Regions from separate parts of the Homo sapiens genome. Here all the other regions are linked to region 2. The links are contacts of gene promoters, found by promoter capture Hi-C in human tissues and cell types (Jung and others, 2019). All regions are on one chromosome and are shown on one strand. The core of a region is centred on a gene start or on the middle of the fragment in contact, and the rest is flanking DNA. Distances in the headings are between cores, read along the strand shown.

What was found. Contacts are between HindIII fragments. The study calls those that stand out against the background at their distance.
Region 1: a contact is called between a fragment that was not itself captured here and the fragment with the promoter of PARVA in region 2, in 1 of the 25 tissues and cell types used here (dorsolateral prefrontal cortex).
Region 3: a fragment that was not itself captured here is called in contact with the fragment with the promoter of PARVA in region 2 in 2 of the 25 tissues and cell types used here (dorsolateral prefrontal cortex and mesenchymal stem cells).
Region 4: a fragment that was not itself captured here is called in contact with the fragment with the promoter of PARVA in region 2 in 1 of the 25 tissues and cell types used here (liver).
Region 5: a contact is called between a fragment that was not itself captured here and the fragment with the promoter of PARVA in region 2, in 1 of the 25 tissues and cell types used here (dorsolateral prefrontal cortex).

Annotation. Positions count from the first base shown.
Region 1 is chr11:12,781,005-12,784,937 of GRCh38, forward strand. The region is part of intron 3 of TEAD1 (TEA domain transcription factor 1); the gene reads left to right. Among named protein-coding and RNA genes, the nearest start is that of TEAD1, 110 kb to the left of the region's middle. The HindIII fragment of the contact is 4,708 bases long and covers 221-3,933 here.
Region 2 is chr11:12,376,232-12,379,871 of GRCh38, forward strand. It overlaps PARVA (parvin alpha), which reads left to right and starts at 1,340. Exons shown (of 13, transcript NM_018222.5): 1 at 1,340-1,552. The coding sequence starts at 1,417. The HindIII fragment of the contact is 6,514 bases long and covers 1-3,640 here.
Region 3 is chr11:12,840,106-12,843,938 of GRCh38, forward strand. The region is part of intron 3 of TEAD1 (TEA domain transcription factor 1); the gene reads left to right. Among named protein-coding and RNA genes, the nearest start is that of TEAD1-AS1, 81 kb to the right of the region's middle. RefSeq lists an enhancer at 3,680-3,833. The HindIII fragment of the contact is 3,640 bases long and covers 1-3,176 here.
Region 4 is chr11:12,700,169-12,704,065 of GRCh38, forward strand. The region is part of intron 2 of TEAD1 (TEA domain transcription factor 1); the gene reads left to right. Among named protein-coding and RNA genes, the nearest start is that of TEAD1, 28 kb to the left of the region's middle. The HindIII fragment of the contact is 3,590 bases long and covers 753-3,897 here.
Region 5 is chr11:12,868,016-12,871,890 of GRCh38, forward strand. All of the region lies in intron 5 of TEAD1 (TEA domain transcription factor 1), which reads left to right. Among named protein-coding and RNA genes, the nearest start is that of TEAD1-AS1, 53 kb to the right of the region's middle. The HindIII fragment of the contact is 7,003 bases long and covers 1-3,875 here.

The DNA.
Region 1 (3,933 bases), core at 1,325-3,824, 410 kb after region 2:
TATCATCAATGGAGTAGAATCACAAGTCCAGAAATAAACCCTTATATTTATTGTCAATTGATTTTCAACAGATATACCAAGACAATTCAATAGGAAATAATAGACTTTTCAACAAATGATGCTGAGACATGCGAAGAGTGAAGTCGGATCCCTTCCTCACATATCATATATCATAATTAACTAGAAAATGATCATAGATGTAAAAGCTATGATTATGAAACTCCAGAAGGAAATACAGGAATGAGTCTTTCTGACTTTGGATTAGGCAAAGCCTTAGATGTGACAACAAAAGTATAAGTGGTAAAGTAAAAATAGAGAAAATTCATGAAAATTAAAAAACTTTCCTGCTTCAAAGGATATCATCAAGAAAATGAAAAGGCAATCCAGAGAACAGGAGAAGATATTTTCAAATCATAAATCTAGTAAGCAACTTGTATCTAGAATATATAAAGGACTTTTGCCATTAATAAAAAGATAACTATCCAGTTAAAGAATGGACAGAGGATCTGACTGGACCTTTCCTTAAAAAAGACATACGTTGAAAAACACACCAAAGATGCTCAAAACCATTAGCTAGCAGGGAAATGCAAATTAAAACTACACTGCGATATCACTTTATATCTCTTAGGATGGCTATCATTAAAAAAAAAAAAACAGACAATAACAAGTGTTAGGGAGGATGTAGAGAAATGGGAACCCTCACAGGTCACTGGTGGGTTTATAAAGATGGCATAACCACTCTGGAAACAGTCTGGAAGTTCTTTAAAAGACTCACCATAGAGTTATTATAGGACCCAAAAGAAATGAAAACAGATGTCCATACAAACACTTGTACATTAGGGGTAGGTGTGTTGGCTCCCAGCACTTTGAGAGGCCTAGGTGGGCAGATCGTGTGAGTCTAGGAGTTAGAATCCAGCCTGGGCAACATGGTGAAACCTCGTCTGTACAAAAAAAAAAAAAAAAAAAAGAAAGAAAAAAAGAAAAAGAAAAAAAAAATTAGCCAAGCGTGGTAGTGCACACCTGTAGCCCCTGCTACTCAGCTGGCTGAGGTGGGAGGATCACCTGAGCCTGGGAGGTGGAGGTTGCAGTGAGCAGAGATCTCCCCACGGCACTCCAGCCTGTCTCAAAAAACAAAACAAACTTGTACATGGATATTTATAGCAGCATTATTTCTAATAATCAGAAAGTGGAAACAACCCAAATGTTTATCAGCTGATGACTGCGTAAATAAAATGTGGTAATAGCTATACAATGGAATATTATTTGGCAATAAAAAGGAATGAAGTCTTAATATGTACCACAATATGGATGACACTTGAAAACTGTGCTAAATGAAAAGAAGATTCATGAAAGACCACATATTGTACGATTCCATTTATACATGGAATCATATGAATCATACGAAATGCCCGGAATAGGTCAGTCTACAGAAGCAGGAAGCAGATTAGTGGTTACCTGAGACTGGAGGATTTGAGAGAAAATAGGGAGTAACTGCAAATGGGTATGGAGTTCTTTCTGGGGTGATTAAGATGTTCTAAAACTAGTTACGGTAATGCTTACACAACTCTGTGAATGTAGTAAAAACTTGAATTGTACACTTAAAATGGGTGAGCTGTATGAAATATGAATTATATCACAATAAAGGTAGTATCAGTGTATATGCTCAGCATCATGCTTGGCCTTGATAAATTGGTAAATGTTAGCTACCAATGTAATAGTAACTCTCTGACTTCATGTGCAGAGCACGTTTATAGTAGCAAAGATGGAAAGAAAGGAAAATGCTGAGAGAGTAGATGAACATACAAGTTAACTCAGATACCAGGTGAGGGAGAAGGTGACTGAATCTGTGGCAGCCGTATGGTAGGAGCTGAGTGCTGCTTTTGGAGAAGGTGAATGAAGTTATGTGGTGCAAGAGCCTGATACCCTAAAAGTGTCTAGTAAACCTGAATGTAGTTACCCTTAAAATGTGGTTGAACTTGGGTCTGGGGATCCAGATGTCACTAAACAGTATCTTCTTCACAAAAGAGTAATCACCGTCAGTGTGATAAAAGCCAGAGTTTTTGTGTCTAGAAGTCACTAAACCAGGTAAGGGTTTGTGTGTGTGTGTGTGTGTGTGTGTGTGTGTGTGTGCGCGCACTTTCTTTTTAAATCACTGTATGACAAAGGCCAGAGTTTTAGTTTTTGTGCCTTTTTTTTTTTTTTTTTTTTAAGGCAGTGTCTGGGGGAACTTATCTTCCCACAGTCAGCCCATGGCTGACCAGCTTTGATTTTTGCAGGGTGTCTTTGGGCCTGAATGTTTGAGCCTCCCTACAGGAGATGGCTAGAGCCTAGCCCTCATGCTCTGGAAGTTAGTTCTGGTAAAAGCTTTGCAGTTGGCGCTGTGGATGCCCTGTGCTACTTAACAGTGGTTCCTCCTTTAGAACTTGGAAGACACGTGCCAATAGGGAGGAAGGTTCTCTGCTAAGATGCATTTATTTGTGAACACCTCTCACAGTGTTTTTTTCAAGGATATACCTGTGGAGGGAATTTCCCATTTCAGTTTTGGGGGAAACCTGGTGAGTTGCTTCTCAGATGTTTAGGTCACACACTGACACTCAAGGTCGAATGGCTACTGCGTGGTGGAGCTGTGATTCCAAGAAACCTTCCATGTCTGATTGCTAAGACAGCTCACAGTCTTAACCACTAGGCTGAATTTTCCCTCAGGGATGGACAAAGTGGAAGAGAGAGAAAGCTGAAGGCAGAGAGATGTGAAAATACAGTGTTTTCAGGAGTAGTAAGGAGGCTGGTAAGCATGTGGGATGTCTAGAAGGGTGGATGGAGTGTGGGGTGGCTTGTAAGCTGAGAGGTTACGGGAGTGAAGTGCCAGGCAAGGATGTTCGAACAGTAAGATTAGAGGTTCTCAACTTTTCTGTGTATGCAGCATATACACAGGAAGGGGGGATGGGAGCCCTTGTTTTTAGGATATTCAACAAGTGTTTGAGGAGAATTATTCTGGAGGCTCTATCTCCCATAAGGAGGCTGACACTACAACACTTCTGGTAGGAGATGAGGAGGGCTTGAACTAGGTCAGAGGTTATGGGAGTGACAAGGAGGGGATGGATGGGAAGGACATTTTACATCAGTATATTAGAGATTAGGCATTTAGATTAGGTGTATTAGAGATGAGAGGGCTCTGTAGGGTTTTCTGATGAGGGAGAAGATGAAGATTTTTCATCTGCATGGATGGCAGTGCCATTTATAGACACAGTTGTACAGCAGGGGAGACAAGTTGTAAGGGCCAGAGTTGGGGTAATGAGTTTTGAGTTGTATGGAGTTTGCAGTGCTTTGGGGCACTTCATGGGGAGGGCGCCAGCAGGCACTGGGCAATTCAGCATTCTGGATTTGAGAACAGTTTGGAAAACATCATCACAGGGTTTGGAGTTGAGACCCTGGAAGTGGATAAGCTTGTCTAGGAGACAGAGGGAAAGGACAGAAAGGAAGAAAGGCTAGGATAGAATCCATTGGAAGCATTAAGAGTCATTGTCTTGAGTAAGCATCTTCCATGTCATATGAAACCTTACAGATGCAGGAGCAGGGGAGTCTGAATTCACGTATGTTTACTAAGTGTGCTGAAGTATTTGTCTCCTGGTGGTGTGTTGATGGAAGCAGATGATTTTCTTGCAAGTTCCAGGGGTGCTGATGTCTTGGCATGTTCCTTTCTGTGGCCCCCTAGGGTGAGTTAATGGGTCAGCCCAGGATCCTAGTTCCTCCTTCCCTTTCCTTAAGTCAAAGCTGGCCTACGCTCCATGTGTGATCTCCTTCTTCCCAGCCTCCCTGGGAGTGTTGCTGAGCTCCGTTTGGAGTTTCAGTTGCAAGGCTTTAGCCACCCATGTTAACTGTAGCTCCTATCGCTTGAGAAGTGCAGGGTGAGGGGATCCTGGAGAATCAGCTCCC
Region 2 (3,640 bases), core at 90-2,589:
CTTTATTTAGTTTAAGGAACTGTGGATGGGTTAATAAAAGGCTGAGTAACATCTCCTGGGAAGAAGCACAGCTGGCCCTGGCAGGAAGTGCAAGTGGGGTCTGGGAAAAGATTCAAGGTCCAAGCAGCTACTCCCCACGGTTTCCATTACTCAGACCACGTGGCTTCTTGAGCACACTTCTTTGCTCCATTCTTTGGTTTCCCTACTCCTCAGCATGCACGTGGCTAGAAACAGCCACCCTAGTTTTGATTGCGAATGATCATCAGTCACGAGCACAACTTCTGACAACAGTCTCTCCAGCTTAGTGCAGTCTTAACTGGGGCCAGCTGATCGTCTGCTCTTCAGTAAAGCAGTAGCGCCCTTTGGATTAGGTGTTCACCCAGGTTCAATCAGCTGTGGCCTAGAAGGGGCCACAAGGAGGAAACACAGTTGCCAAGGTGCTGTGAGTCTGTGTGTGAGAGACAGACAGAAGGACAAAGAGCCAGAGTGAGAACTTGAGATGGGTAAGCTCAATAACACGTGCCTTTTAATCATTTCCAGTATGAGTCCTTCAAACACTGTGCTTTGTATGACTCCCCTGTTATCTCAAATGAGTCTGGTTGTCACTCTCTTGCTTTTATTTAGGCAGGATAAATTTTGCGGGAAGTCCTGTAGGAGCTCATGGTTGTGCTTTTCCCATTCATGTTTCCACCACCACGTGGGATCTTCCTTTGTATAAGCTGCTGGAAACACGGATGTCTTACAAGAATAAGAAGCCTCGGCTTTACCCTTGTGCACTCCAAGCTTCTCAGTCTTGGATGGGAGTAGAGACGAGGAGGTTGACGGTCATGGATAGGTTCAGGAGTGATTGGTTCTGCCCACTTTGGTGGGGCCTGGACACATTTTGGTTCACTGCAATAATTTCTTCCAGGAGCTGCAGTCTTGTGGGCGCAAGACGTGGGCCTGATAACCCCACAGGCAGTAGTGCTGGGGCAGAGCGAGCTCACCAGCCGCCGGCTGGAAGACCCCGGGAGAGTAGCAGGGTTGGGTTGGTTCTCAGATGTGTTTTGCGCCAGGCTGTGTGGTGGGGACAGAGCCTGGGTAAATGAAGCTTTCCGGCTCGACCGCTCCCAACCTGGGCACACACGTCCTCCTGTCCTGCAAGGGGCAGTTTTGGGGCATCCTCCCTGCTTGGGGCAACCCAGGGGCGCAAGGCGCGGCCCCGGGAGCGCAGCTCCTTCCAGGGCAGAGGGCGGCGCGAGGGAGGGAGCGAGGGAGGGAGCGAGGGAAGGGAAAGGCGAGCGTGAGCTGCCTCAAATGCTTGGAATAATTCCGCTTCCGTTTGGAAAGCCGCAGCCTCAGTCCCGCCGCCGCCCGCTGCGTCCGCCCAGCGCCAGCTCCGCGTCCCGACCGGCCCGCGGCAGCCTGCGCCGCGCCATGGCCACCTCCCCGCAGAAGTCGCCTTCTGTCCCCAAGTCTCCCACTCCCAAGTCGCCCCCGTCCCGCAAGAAAGATGATTCCTTCTTGGGGAAACTCGGAGGGACCCTGGCCCGGAGGAAGAAAGCCAAGGAGGGTGAGTGCGGCCAGGCCGGCCGGGCGGGCGGTAGGAGCCGGGGGTGCCGTAGGGGCCGAGGGGCCGGGGCACTGGGACCGGGCGGGAGCGCGCCGCGGGTGCCCGGCGCGGTGGGGCGCGCGGCGATGCGTGCGCGCGCTTCCCGGGTACGTCGGGCAGGAGCGACGCGCACCCCACACTGAGCCCGGGGCTCGCGGGCCATCGAGGCCACCCCGCCCGCTCGCGGTCGCCCGGGCGCTGCCCTCCTGGGCCGGGGACCAGGCCAACGCCCCCGCCGGGCCGTGGGCGGGCGCCGCTTGGCGGCCGGAGGCGGCGGGACCGGAGCCCAGGCGGGGCCCCAGCCCGCAGACAGTGCGATCCAGTAGGCCCTGCCCCGCCCTCTGCGCCCGAAGGCTGGCATTTCCCAAGTTTCCGCTGCAGCTTTCCTGGGCGCCGTCGCTCTTACTCGTTGCCTTCATTGGTCCTTAAAATCAGGTCGTTTCCTGGACCTGCTGACGTCCTCTGGCAGCGGCGTCGTGGCTTTGGCCTCTTCGGGATCTTTTGTCCATCCCGAGGGCTGAGAAGGGCTCTGTTAATGGAGTAGGTGGACATCGAGTGTTTGTTGAATGAATGAGCGAAAAACTGGCAAACCTAGCGTGCCCTCGGTGTAATACACAATAAACTCCCACCAAAGGAGAAAACCTGCGTGAGACACAAACTTCGTCATGGGCCTGCTGTGAACTCAGGCATTCAGGGCTTTCGTAAAAACCTTTGTTTTTTCCCCACCAGAGTGAATTGAGGCGACCTTATTCTTTTTTTTTTTTTTTTTTTTCAGGGTAGTTTGCATGTAAAATATTTTTTTTTCCCATGCACAGATTTTGCGTCCTGGTTTTTGGTTTGAAAACGAGGTGGCAGTTCTCAAGAAGCACTGTGGTGACTGGTGTGTAGATAGAAGTTGCTGAGTTAAACATTTTTGTTTTAAACATTTTTTAGTTGATGCATGATGTACATAGTTCTGGGGCACATGTGATAATGTAATACATTCATATAATTTGTAAAGATCAAATTGCACAGGAAAGGGGTCCCAGTCCAGACCCCAAGAGAGGGTTCTTGGATCTCACGCAAGAAAGAATTCAGGGTGAGTCCACACAGTAAAGTGAAAGCAAGTTTATTAAGAAAGTAGAGGAATAAAAGAATGGCCACTCCATAGACAGAGCAGCCTGGGGCTGCTGGTTGCCCATTTTTATGGTTATTTCTTGATGGTATGCTAAACAAGGGGTGGATTATTCATGTCTCCTCTTTTTAGACCATATAGGGTAACTTCCGGACGTTGCCGTGGCATGTGTAAACTGTCCTGGCGCTGCTGGGAGTGTATCAGTGAGGACGACCAGAGGTCACTCTTGTCGCCATTTTGGTTTTGGTGGGTTTTAGCCGACTTCTTTACTGCGACCTGTTTTATCAGCAAGGTCTTTATGACCTGTATCTTGTGCCCACATCCTATCTCATCCTGTAAGTTAGAATGCCTTAACCTTCTGGGAATGCAGCCCAGTAGGTCTCACTCAGCCTTGTTTTACCTGGCCCCATTCAAGATGGAGTTGCTCTGGTTCACATGCCTCGGACAAAATCACTGTACTTGGGATATCCATCACGTTAAAGATTTGTCTTTTCTCTATGCTAGACCACTGGAATTCTAGATATTTTGAAATATACAAGAGGTTATTGTAAAATATAGTTAGTTTACCAATCTAACACTAGGTCTTCTTATATCAAATGGTATATTTGTAACCATTAATCAACTTCTCTTCCCCCCTAAAAAATGTTTTTAATAGATTGCTCCATGAATTAGAAATAACCTTTTGAAAGCTGTGATGCTGTGTGAAATTTTCATGTTTGTAAGTCATCTTAAAGTATAAAAACATCTTCAGCGCTGAGGATTATCAGACTTGATGAAGAACTAGACTTCTATTCCCTAGATTGAAACGAGAAGCAGCAAAAACATACAAAAGTTTCCCCACATTGGTTATTTTGGTAACCCATCGAGTAGTGTACAGTTGGTGGCAAATCATGAAACCCTGGCTTGGGAAGCTCTTTTCTAGACCATGTTTCTAA
Region 3 (3,833 bases), core at 107-2,606, 460 kb after region 2:
GTGTGGTGGCGGGCGCCTGTAGTCCCAGCTACTTGGGAGGCTGAGGCAGAAGAATGGCGTGAACCCGGGAGGCGGAGCTTGCAGTGAGCCTGGATCGCGCCACTGCACTCCAGCCTGGGCGACAGAGCGAGACTCTGCCTCAAAAAAAAAAAAAAAAGAAAAAAAAAAGACCAGAAACGAAATCGGGCCAAGGCAAGAAGGGTGGAAGGTGGATGAGTCTGAGAGATGGATGTTTTCACTATGGAATGGTTGTGTAAGGATGGGGAGTCAGAAGAAGCCATGAGAAGCTTGTGAGAGTTAAGAGGCCATATTCAGTGTTGTGCTGGTAAATATAACCTCCTATAATTAAATTGTAAAGAGGTCAGTCCAAATTCATGTACTGGGGTTGATCGTTTCTGCGTAATAGTCTTTCACTTAACTTTTACTCATTTTCACTTTCACGAAATAAATGGCCGTGTCTTAGCCTGGGGGCCTAGGTCTGGGGTTCGGCTGTGTGCTCTTCCTGCAGTTTGGAAGTGCCGTCTATGTTAATAGATATTCCCAACTCTGCAGATCTTCTCTCGAGGCTGAAGGGGCCCCATTCCTATCAGAAGCCTCTCATTTTTCTCTGAGGTAGAAAAACTAAGGCATAGACTTCATAGGGAAGTTTATATGCAAATGGTGGCTTTCTGCACGGGCCCCTGTGAGTGGAGTGGGATGAGATACCCAGTGGCTTTCAGAGTTCTGGTGGATATTTGATTGCTCTCCATTGGTAGTAACTTTATTGCTTTTATAGGGAGAGTTGTACTGGAAATTTGCCCTCCCTGTCCTTCAGCTGGTTTGTTCCCAAGCCAGACCTGTCTGAAAATTGAAATGGAATACTTTTTCTCATCTCAAGTTATCAGTTGTAGCTGTCAGGAATTTGTTACTGTCTGCTAAAGCCTTTTAACATGAAAATACGCTAAGGGCAGTGCATGTGTGAGTCATGTGGGAAGTTACATTATTTTATGGATGCAGAGAGGGACACAGACCCAGATTTATTCATAGGTGAAAGGGGAAAAGGAACAGAATTTAAAAGGGAAATCCTGAAAAATATGTAGCCTCTGTGGCTCTGCCTCTTTTCCTACCTGCGTCTCTTATACACCATGGATAGAATGTAAGCTCAGTGGGTACAGAAGAGCTGTCTTTTTTCCCTCCTTTGGTCTTCTTAGCTGTCCCCACCAGGCCATGCCTATAATCGGTGCTTAGCAAGCTACTGGCTTAAGAGAGTCTCTGTCTGCTGTGAGTGCAGCTCCTGAGATGGTGGGGATGGATGCTGGTTAGGAAGTGTGTTCGCTGCCTTAGCATAAAGAATAAGTACAGTTTTTCTCGATTATTTTTCTCCAAGGGAAACTCAATGGGGAATGTCGGTTTCATGCTGTTCTTGGAGGGGTTGGTTTAGAATTCTCTCTGGCTTTTCTGAGAATCCCTCCACATTCCCCCTCCAGGCTGCTGTCATGGTAGCTGCCCTTCTTTCAGCTACTTGCATTTTTTGGGAGATATGCCATCTTCCTTCAGTTTGCACCCTGGTAGCTTAGCTCCTTCAGTGTTTAGAGGGAAATGGGAGATGGAGAATCGAAGCACACTAGTGCTTTCTGGTGTTCTCTGCATGTGTTTGGAAGGAATGTAAAAGTAGCTAGGGCTTATCGTGGTATCATAGCATTATAGGGTATGAGACCTTTGGGGAAACTGAGGCTCACAAAGGCTGATAACTTTACCTAGAGTCAGTGACTGCTAATGGCAGACTCCTAGCGTCTGTACTTTTCCACACTTACCCGTTCATATGAAATAGTCTGGGAAGGTCTCTTTTAAAATGTATCGTGACCTCTCCTATAAACCTCAAGGTTACATATGTTAAAGAAATGTAGTCGGCTTTCCTCATGTGCCGAATTCTGAATCAAGCTTACCCAAACCCCCAAATCATTTCCACAGAGCAGAGGAAAAAAACAAAACAAAACAAAACAAAACAGGCAAATGTGAATCATGGGAACCTATTATAATGATATATAGCTTGTCATAACACATTATAATATTACAGCAAATGTATTTAACTCACTGAACGTTCTCAGGGGGCTCTTAGCTCCCTTTAAAAGTGTTCTCCAAATCTCTGCAGCAAGATGGAGCTGCCTAGTCCACCTCACTTTTGACCAAACCACCGTTACGAGAATACCTATTGAAAACCCTTACACTGTTGCTGTTTCCCTGGGCTTAAAAGTATGTTTGGTTTTGTCAGTACCTGGAAACAGGAAGTTGAGATTTGAGGAGAAATCTTTGGCAGTTGTGCACTAAGCTTGCGGGAGTTAGGAGTCTGTTGCCACGGAAACCACACTGCTGCCTCATTTATTAATGGAGGCTTGGTGAACTTCCGGAGATACTCTTAGCCTGTCCTGTAAATTCATTCTAGAGAAATGCAGGGTGACTTTTAAGAGATTTCTCTGTCGTTTCTCAAGCATTCTCTCCTGGGTCTTCATGAGCTCCAGAAAATTGCTTGTATGCAGGTTCAGAACCACTGATTTTTATCTGGCAAGCATGTCTGAAGGCCGTTTCCTTTTTTTCATGCTTAAATCGTGTTTATGCCTGCCTGCCTTGTCCAATAAGTGAATTTTTTTTTATTATGCTGCCTTTAAGAATTACATGGATTTCAAATGAAGGAAGAAGGAATACAAAAATGAACTAAGTAAATATATTGAAAACCTTCTGACACTAACTTTAAGAGAGTTATAAGCATCAAAGCCTTTTCTAACTTTTAAAATTCTAAACTTAAAAAATCTAAAATGAATGGTTTATTTCTTCTAATTCCAGTGAGATACTTTAAGAACATTTGTCTGAGACATTTTCAAATTTTGTTCTAATTTCACTAAACTAACTCTATTCTGCTAGGCAGAGTAACAGCATTGGAAGTTGCTTCCAGGAAAAAAAAAATTTTTTTTCTAGCTAATTGTTTATCTGGGAGGATGCAAATGGTGGTTTTAAGTCCTTTAAGTCATCCATCATGCCTGGCAGCCTCTATTGTCTCATTGTTGGATTTGAGCCAAGTCAGGCCCTTTCTTGGTCTTGGGAGGGTGCACATAGATCTTGCTCTGCCAAATCTGTGTTCACAAGGAGTCCGAGCCCAGCTCTAAGGGTAGGTAATGTTGTCAGATCTATAGATCCCCTCAGATTGGAAAAGATCATGCATCCTCGTTCCTTATGTCACACTAAAGTAGAAAGTAGCACTCTATTCAAAGTAGAAGTGACAGGACTTGTTCCCTCAGTTCTTCCAGTGTCTACGAATTACTGTTAGTTTTTAAACGCATTTTTGTGGATGTAATAAAATACTGTTTATAGTCAGCTACGAAGTAAGTAATTACAATGCGGGAAATGAAATTCAATATAGCTTTGTTGTGGTTTTTTGAATTTTAATTAAACCAGTCTTAGAGTAAATTATAAATGCTGCTGCTTTTGTTGTGACAAGTGACATTGACAAAATATTAATCTAATGGATTGTTATTCACAAAAGCTAAATCTTTTCAAATCTGCAGGGTTTGGTTGTTTATTTTGTTTTACTTTTCAGTTTGTGTTTTAAAAAGTCTAGAGAAAAGAATAAAGTTTTAAAACCACATGAAATAACTCCATGTATGGAATATTTCATTGTTGATGTCTTGCCAGCCATAATTGCATGCATCTCATTTATGGCGCTGAAAACTTGTTCTTTTTAAAAATCAGATGTTTCTGTGGTCACTTTTTTGTTATTAAAACTGGAGCCGGGTTAAATAACCAACCATTGACCACGAAGCCTAATATTAAAGGAATAATCAGCCCATGTTCCTATTAGA
Region 4 (3,897 bases), core at 1,298-3,797, 330 kb after region 2:
CCTTAGATAAATTAGCATCACCCATTTAAGCCCTTTTGTTTTAGGCACAAATACCCAACCTGTGTGCTACTTATGGACAGGAATGGAATCTTCATTCATTTTTATAACTCTTAACAACTTTGGACTTTTTCTTCCATAACTAGAGATCCCTTAGATAAATTAGCATCATCCATTTAAACCCTTTTGTTTTAGGTACAAATACCCAACCTGTGTGCACTTTATGGACAGGAATAGACTCTTCATTCATTTTTATAACTCTTCACCAGGTACTCAAGGTTTAAATAATAAGAGAAACCAAATCATAAACATACAGTACATTCTAAAATTATAAATTAAAAAATGATGTTATACCTGTGGGGTGCAGTGGAAACGAGTTTTGCGTATATTTTAGTTTCTGCTACCCTTTTAAAAGCCACATTGATCTTAGAAACTTTTTTTTCTATGATAGGAGGATTTCTAGAAATTATGCTTCTTAACTCTCATTTATTTTCCCTCACCGTGGTATGAGAAGTGTGGGATATTTGAATGGAGTTGGTCAGTTATTTATAATACTGTTGCTTTTGCTTCCTAATTTATTTCAGTTTTATATTTGGTGTAAAATGAAACTCCCCTAATATTTGAGGCCTTTAATGCATCTGGTGCCAAGTGACTTGATTTTGTAGATTATAAGTAGTTCAGTCGACTGCTTCTTCAATAAAAATTGTTTTGAGAACGATCACAGTCGCTCCACTGCAGATTTTGTGGTCCTCCCCTTAGCTCGCTGTGATGGTCGGTGAGAGAGATTATTTTGGGAAAGACAAAGCACAGAGTCTCCTCTGCTCTAGCACAGTCATGCTTTAGAGTTTAGATTTTGAGCAAAGCCATAGCAGACCCCCTCTGGGACCCCTTTGAATTTTGTGTTTGATTCTTCATGTGTACAGTGTACAATATTTGGAGAGTGTTTGTAAGACCGTTGTGTTTTCTTTAATAAAACTGCATTTATCCTTGTGTGGACAGATTGTGTTCTTAGAGTCTAATTTCTTAGAGAACACTGGGAACTGTTTACTTAGATTTTTTTTTTCTTTCTTTAAATAAAGGCTTCCTCTGGTTATCAGCTTTAAAACTATTGAAAGTCAGCCAAAAAAGTTGGTTGAAGGGAAAAGGCACTATTCTGGAGTGTCTTAAATTTTAGTCACTATATGTTGGGGGTGATTAGGGCTTTTACTTTTCCAGAACCTGTAGCAAACAACAAAACAAAAACTTAGACGTCAAGCCTAAATTTTGCCTTTCTTTTGATCTTGGAAATTGGAGTTTTGGAAAACCAAGCAGGGTAGGCTTAATTAAAGGAGATGCTGTTATCTTGAAGTCTTACCTGAGTGAAGGGGAAAGTTGAGTAATCGGAAGGGTCATGCCGGTGGGTTTTCACTGTCTTTAGTTTCCAAAAGATGCTATGAAATTTCAGTTCATTGTTTGCGAGTGTCTGTGTTGGGTGGTGGGGATTCAGAGAAGAAAAACTGCAGGCTAGTGGGAAAAGGGAGTTGTGTTAAGGGGACCATTCCAGTCTAAAATGGTGAGTGATGTACGGGAGGTGTGGGGCTCACCAGATAAGAGACTTTAAGAGACTTAGAGCTGGGAGTCCTGAGTTCCTTTTGAAGCTAAAATAAATAAAAATTATATAGGGAATAGAAGCTGCTGGTCATTATGATCTCCTGGACTACACTGGGCATAAAAAAGATGACTTTCTATAAGAAATTCTATCCAAAGAGTGGCAGGATTATGCAGGAAATGTCATTTGGTTATAGCCGAAGGCAAACTGATGCAGAGCTGCCTGCCACAGCACTCGCAGGCTGCTTGTCTCATCCCCAGCCCTCTCTGGCTGGCTCCAGGGCCCTTTGATCTGCTCACAGACTGTGTAAATGGAGAGCTGAAGGAGATAGAGCCAACTGATGTTACTTTTCTGTGTACTCCCTTTATCCATGGTGTGCCCAGAAATGGTCAGTTTCCCTCTCAGCACTCAGGGGCCGCCCCTTGAACCAGATCCTCTCTGCATTCAACCCTTGGTGCCATGGCAGGCTCAGGTGTCAGTGGTCCTAGGCTGGTATCAGGCCACAGCGGTGCAGGGTAAGAATGTTGGAAATTGACCCTGCGTGTTACTATCTGAGAACATCGTGGACAACGTTAAGTGGAGTTTGTCTCTCTGGCTCACTGTCCAGACCAGTCCCTCGACACCACTCCCTCTTTATAGCTTCATGACTTCCATCTGTAGAATGCTTTATGTCTTAAATGTACCGTAGCCAAGTTCATGGTCTTATTTGAGCCTCAGGACAATGCCGAGAGTAGAAGGATAAGAATCGTTAGCCCCATTTTAGAGATAGAAGAATTGAGGCTCAGAGAAATGCACCTGGGTGTGCATTTCTGTCTTCACTGAGTGCTTTTGTGGCTGAGCGGCTCCTCCAGCAGCACTGCCTTTCTTCAGGCTGCAGGCTTCCGTGAAACATTTCCCTTTCCCTTCCATGTTCTCCCAAATCAGTTACTTCCTTCCCATTCCCTGGAAGCTACTTCCGTCCTTCTCTCGCCCGGATTACTCTGGCAGCCTCTCAGGTAATCTTCCAATGCCATTGTGTCTCAGCAGGTTAATTAATTTGCTGCATCATCATCACCATCATTATCCGATAATGCACTTACATAGCCATTCTTGTGAACTGGCACTGTTCTTATTGCTTTGTGATTCATTTAATTTTCACAATAATTCTGTGAAGGAGGTAGTAATATCAGCCTCATTTAATGAGGAACTGGAGGCACAGAGAAGTTAAGTACCTTGTCCAAAACTGCACAGTTCTTAGGAGCCACAGCTGGGATTCAAGCCCAGGCCTGCCGGCTCCAGGTTACTTGTTCTGAGCCACTACATCTTATCCTGGGGCTCCCATTCTCAAAGCCTCCTCCCTACCTGCTTCATCACCCAACCAATGAGCGCATTCCCCTTAGCCTGGTGCTTGAGACCTCCCACAGTGTGGTCTCAGTATCAGTGGAGCATAGCATCCCACAGATGGAATCTTTGTCACTTCCTAAATGTGCTGCCCTACTCATAACATTCTCTCTCCCAAAAAAGCTTCCCTTAGCAGAGGATGGGGGCTTTGGTTTTTGGCTCTGCCACTGACAATACATGTAACATAGGATGAGTCAATCCACCTCCCCTAGCTGGACTCCCCTGCTCGGTACGTGGAGATATTATCATAACACTGGTTGGTTGTGAGATATGAGTGACACATAGCAAGTGCTCAGAAATGGGGATGACCTTTTCCATTTGTTTTGCCTGCCCAAGCCTCCCTATATTTTCTTAAAGCACCTCCTTTAGGAAGTTGTCTTGGAGTTCCTCCCTCCTTTACCTGGAGGGATCTTTGCTTTCTTTAGCCCATAAGTGTCTTACAGCCACTTTCACCATCATCCTTCGTTGTTGTTCTTCTTCCTCCTAAACTCTGAGCCCTTGCGGGATACAGGCTGTGACTTGCACATCTTTATATTCTCAGTGCTTTGTTTATAATAGACCCTCAGGATATATCCATTGGAATGAGTGAATTTGGGGCCACTGGAATTCAGTTATTGCATCCCTTGGAAAGCTTGGTGAGTGGTGCCCAGCATGAATTGACCTGCAGGAGCAGCCATCTATTGCCTGTGCTCTTGAGTTCTGCTTTTTATTAAAATTCTTCCCTGCTATAGTTGGAGATCCCCCTCACCTCTTTTTATAAAACACAGGCTCATGGGGTAGTGTAAATTTGCACAACCATTTTCTAAGCAAATTGGCTAAAACCCTAAATTCCCTAGAAGCAGAATGGCCCTGGATGTGCTTTTAAAAAACAGCATGGATTTTAGAACATGGAAAAAGTTATGTTAGAAGAACTAGACTCCTACCAAGTCAGA
Region 5 (3,875 bases), core at 795-3,294, 490 kb after region 2:
TAGACAAAGGTCTATGGTCCTCATGTGAAGACCGAAACCAGACTTGCATTTGTCTGTCCCTCTGTGGAGTTGGAAAAGTGGCTTACCCGCAATGGAGGCCACTGCCAGATGTGTCTTCCTGGTGAGTCTTCTTGCTTATAAGCTTCTCTTTACTTTCCAGGGAAGGGTGTGGCAGAGTTCTTTGGGCTGGTGTTTTCCAGCCTTTTTAAAGTAGCAAAACTCATGTTTTGAATTGAAGCTTACTCCCTCAAATCCTTAGTAATGGCCTCTTAGGCTATTCCATTGAATCAGGTTTGAAAAGCCCCCTGTTTTAGGCAGAAGGAAAAGGAGGTGTCTACCTCTTATGCTGTCCCTTCCAGCCTTTACAGAGAGCTCCTGTGTCCCATTTAAAGCCCATGTTTTTAAATTCTGTAGTTTTGAAGTTCTGCCATGTTCCTAGGAAGAAAACAGACTCCAGGAGAGAGTGGTCATTTGATGTCACATTGATAGATGAGTCATCCTAGCTACAAAAGTTACTCTCCTGAAAATCCGTTAGAATAAATTCTAAAGGTCAGCTTTATGCTTCTACTAATTGGCAGTTGTTCTCAATGTGCTTGTTTGTGGACTAGATCACCCCCAAATTGTGTAGACTTAAATTTTAGTAAAGAAAAAAATTGTTCTAGTGAAAGTCTAAGATTTCTACGTAGATTTGAACTTGAAAAGCATAGGAATGATTACTGAATTCAGTCCAGTGGTTTTCATTGAGAACCTAAGTGTGTTCTAGGTCCTTTTGTAGACGTTGGGCACATAGAATTGAATCCAGAGTTTCTGTTCTTGAGGAACATTGAACTTTTCTGTTATTTTTCCAGTAGATATCCACAGCTAGGGGGCTCTGCAGTAGAAATTAAACAGGATAGTGCAGAGGCTGCCCAAGTGAAAAGAATGATTCATTCTGGGAGTGAGGGAATTAAAGCTTCATGGAGAAGTGTCATTAGAACTAAACATAGTTGAAGGCAGAGAATTTCCATAAAGTTGGGACTATCTGGGGGACCATGAAGAGCATCATGTAATTGGGGACATGCGGTGGGAGGTAAGACTGGAGGAGCCTAAGGGAAGGGCCCTCGATTATCCCACTGAGGAGAAGGGATTCATCTGTGGGCCTAGGGGCATACATGGGGTTCATTCAAATTTACCCTCTGGAAAGACCTCGCCAGCCAGGTTTTGCAGGATAGCTAATAAGAGGGAGGCCAAGCTGGAGTCAGGGAGGCTAATTCCTGGGCTGCTTTAAGAGTGGGGAAGAGAGTCACAGGCTGGGACCAGGGGCCAACCCACACCCCCTGGGGCTGCTCCGTGGCACTTAGCACTCATCCTTGGCTGGCTCCCTGCTTTGGTGCTCTCTGCCTGCTCTGTAGTCTTTCCTACTCATTGTGTTTAAAGAATAAATTATAAGTTCTGTCCTTATGAAGTCTGAAAAGTGTTGTGTGCCAGAACTTTTCAGAAAGATTTTCAATAGCAGCATTTAAAAATCAACTTATTAAAATTGGGTTCTCTTAAAGTAATGGTAATTGACTAGGAGTGTGCATCAAAATTATGAAGTTTTTGTTGCAAAATTTAAACAGTACAGAAAATATATTAAACACTCATGTTTATACTATCTGGAATTGATCATTTTCATTATATAAGTTTTTTTTAATGAAAAATCAAGTGGCAAACATTATTCTGTACTTTTTCCTCTACCCACCCTCCGTCTTCAACCAAAATTAATCTTCCTTTCTTTCCTACCACCCACAATGTATTTTCTTGCCACTTACTTCCCTTAGAAAATCAAATCCAGTGAAAGCTCTCTCTTCTCATTTTGCTCCTAGATTTTTGCCCATTGTCTTTTTCTTTTTCTTTTTTTTTTGAGACAGAGTCTTGCTTTGTCGCCCGGGCGGGAGTGCAGTGGCGCCATCTCGGCTCATTGCAACCTCCGCCTCCCGGGTTCAAGCGATTCTCCTGCCTCAGCCTCCCAAGTAGCTGGGATTACAGGCGCTCATCACGACACTCAGCTAATTTTTGTATTTTTAATAGAGACGGGGTTTCACCATGTTGGCCAGGCTGGTCTCGAACTCCTGACCTCAAGTGATGCGCCTGCCTCAGCCTCCCAAAGTGCTGGGATTACAGACATGAGCCACTGCGCCCAGCCGATTTTTGCCCAATTATCTACCATGAATTTGTGCAATAGCCATTGGCACCAACATGAGACTTTTCCTCTGGAATTTTTAGCAGCTTAAGATAGACTCGGCCAACAATTTGGTGACCTTGGATACAGACCCTGACTGCAGAGGAGAGATACGAGGTTCAGGACATATAGGGGATGGTTGAACTAGAAAGGGAATAATGCGAGGAGACAGTGAACCAGGAGCAGAGAAGCTGGGAGAGTAGAGACAAAGCGTCAGTAGACTGAAGCTGAGATTCAAGAGCTCGGTAAGATGGAAAAAAGAAAAAAAAAAAGGCATTTGTGGCCAGAGCACAGTGATTTTGGAAATTAAATTTATACATTCAGAGTTGTGGGGATTTTCTCCCCCGCCCCCCCCGGGGTTGGGGCATTTTCAAAATATCTAGGACAAGGCTGGGCACGGTGGCTCACGCCTGTAATCCTAGCACTTCGGGAGGCCGAGATGGGCAGATTGCCTGAGCTCAGGAGTTAGAGACCAGCCTGGGCAACACGGTGAAACCCCGTCTCTACTAAAATACAAAAAATTAGCCAGGTATGGCAGTGTGCACCGGCAGTTATAGCTACTTGGGAGGCTGGGGCAGGAGGGTTGCTTGAACTTGGGAGGTGGAGGTTGCAGTGAGCCGAGATTGTACTGCTGTACCCCAGCCTGGGCAACAGAGCGAGACTCTGTCTCCAAAAAAAAGAAAAAGAAAAAATGTCTAGGACAGAAGCTAGAGTACAAACTGCAGGCCTAGAAGAGAGCTTAGCTTTGAAGGAGTTGTTTCTTAGTGATGGGAGTGCTATGTGTTTGTCTCCTACTCAGACAAAACCCTTTTGACCCACTGCTCTCAAGGGGGTAGGTTTTATAGATGACCCACAGCCTGTAGCTGGGCCTGAGTCTACTTCTAAAGTAGAAGATGAATCCATGCAGTTGCAGTGTGAAAGAGGCTTCTAGGCCTATGGAATATCCATTTAAAAATCCTGAGGATGCTGAGTTAGAGGTCTCCCTTGGACCTTGTGTCACCAGCTGCAGCGACAGCAGTGTCACCAACACCAGCTTTACCTGTTGTCTTCCATCTCACCCTTTCCCTTAGTTTAGCCCCTATTGGCGTCTCCAGTGGAGTAGTGAGAAGCAGCAGCATGTCTGAGGATTAGCTCACAGCCTTAGAAATTATTCTCTACTTCGAATTGTTTCACTTACCATTAATTCATGAAAAAGTCATTAACTGTTTTTTTAAGCTCCAGGGATTTATTATCCCAGCATGTAGAAAGAATGCAGAAGCATTCTCCATGTGTTAAGCAGTCTTTTTCCTACTCAGAGTTTCTTTGTAGAGTTCCATGCAGGAGTCTCTTTGCCTGTATGTTCAGTTGCCCTAAGAAGTTGTTCAGACCCTGCTCAGAGTCCTTCTTTCCCCATTAGCAGCAAAAAGGCAGTCCTTTCTTGCTGTTTTCAGAAGCTCACGGTAGCCACAGCCAAGGTCTGGGAAGCACCACCACACTGTGGGCCATCTCCATCTTCCCATGAAGATGGGCCAAGCCACCTCTGGTTCACTTCTCGAGTGTGTTTAGGTGAGTGTATGACTCGGGACAAAACTAAGAGGAAAGGAAGTCTTCGCCGTGCCCTCCGCTCGGCAGGAATACATCTTAGGCAGTAGATGTATTCACGTCAGGCTCTGGATGTGTATTGAAGAAAAACCTG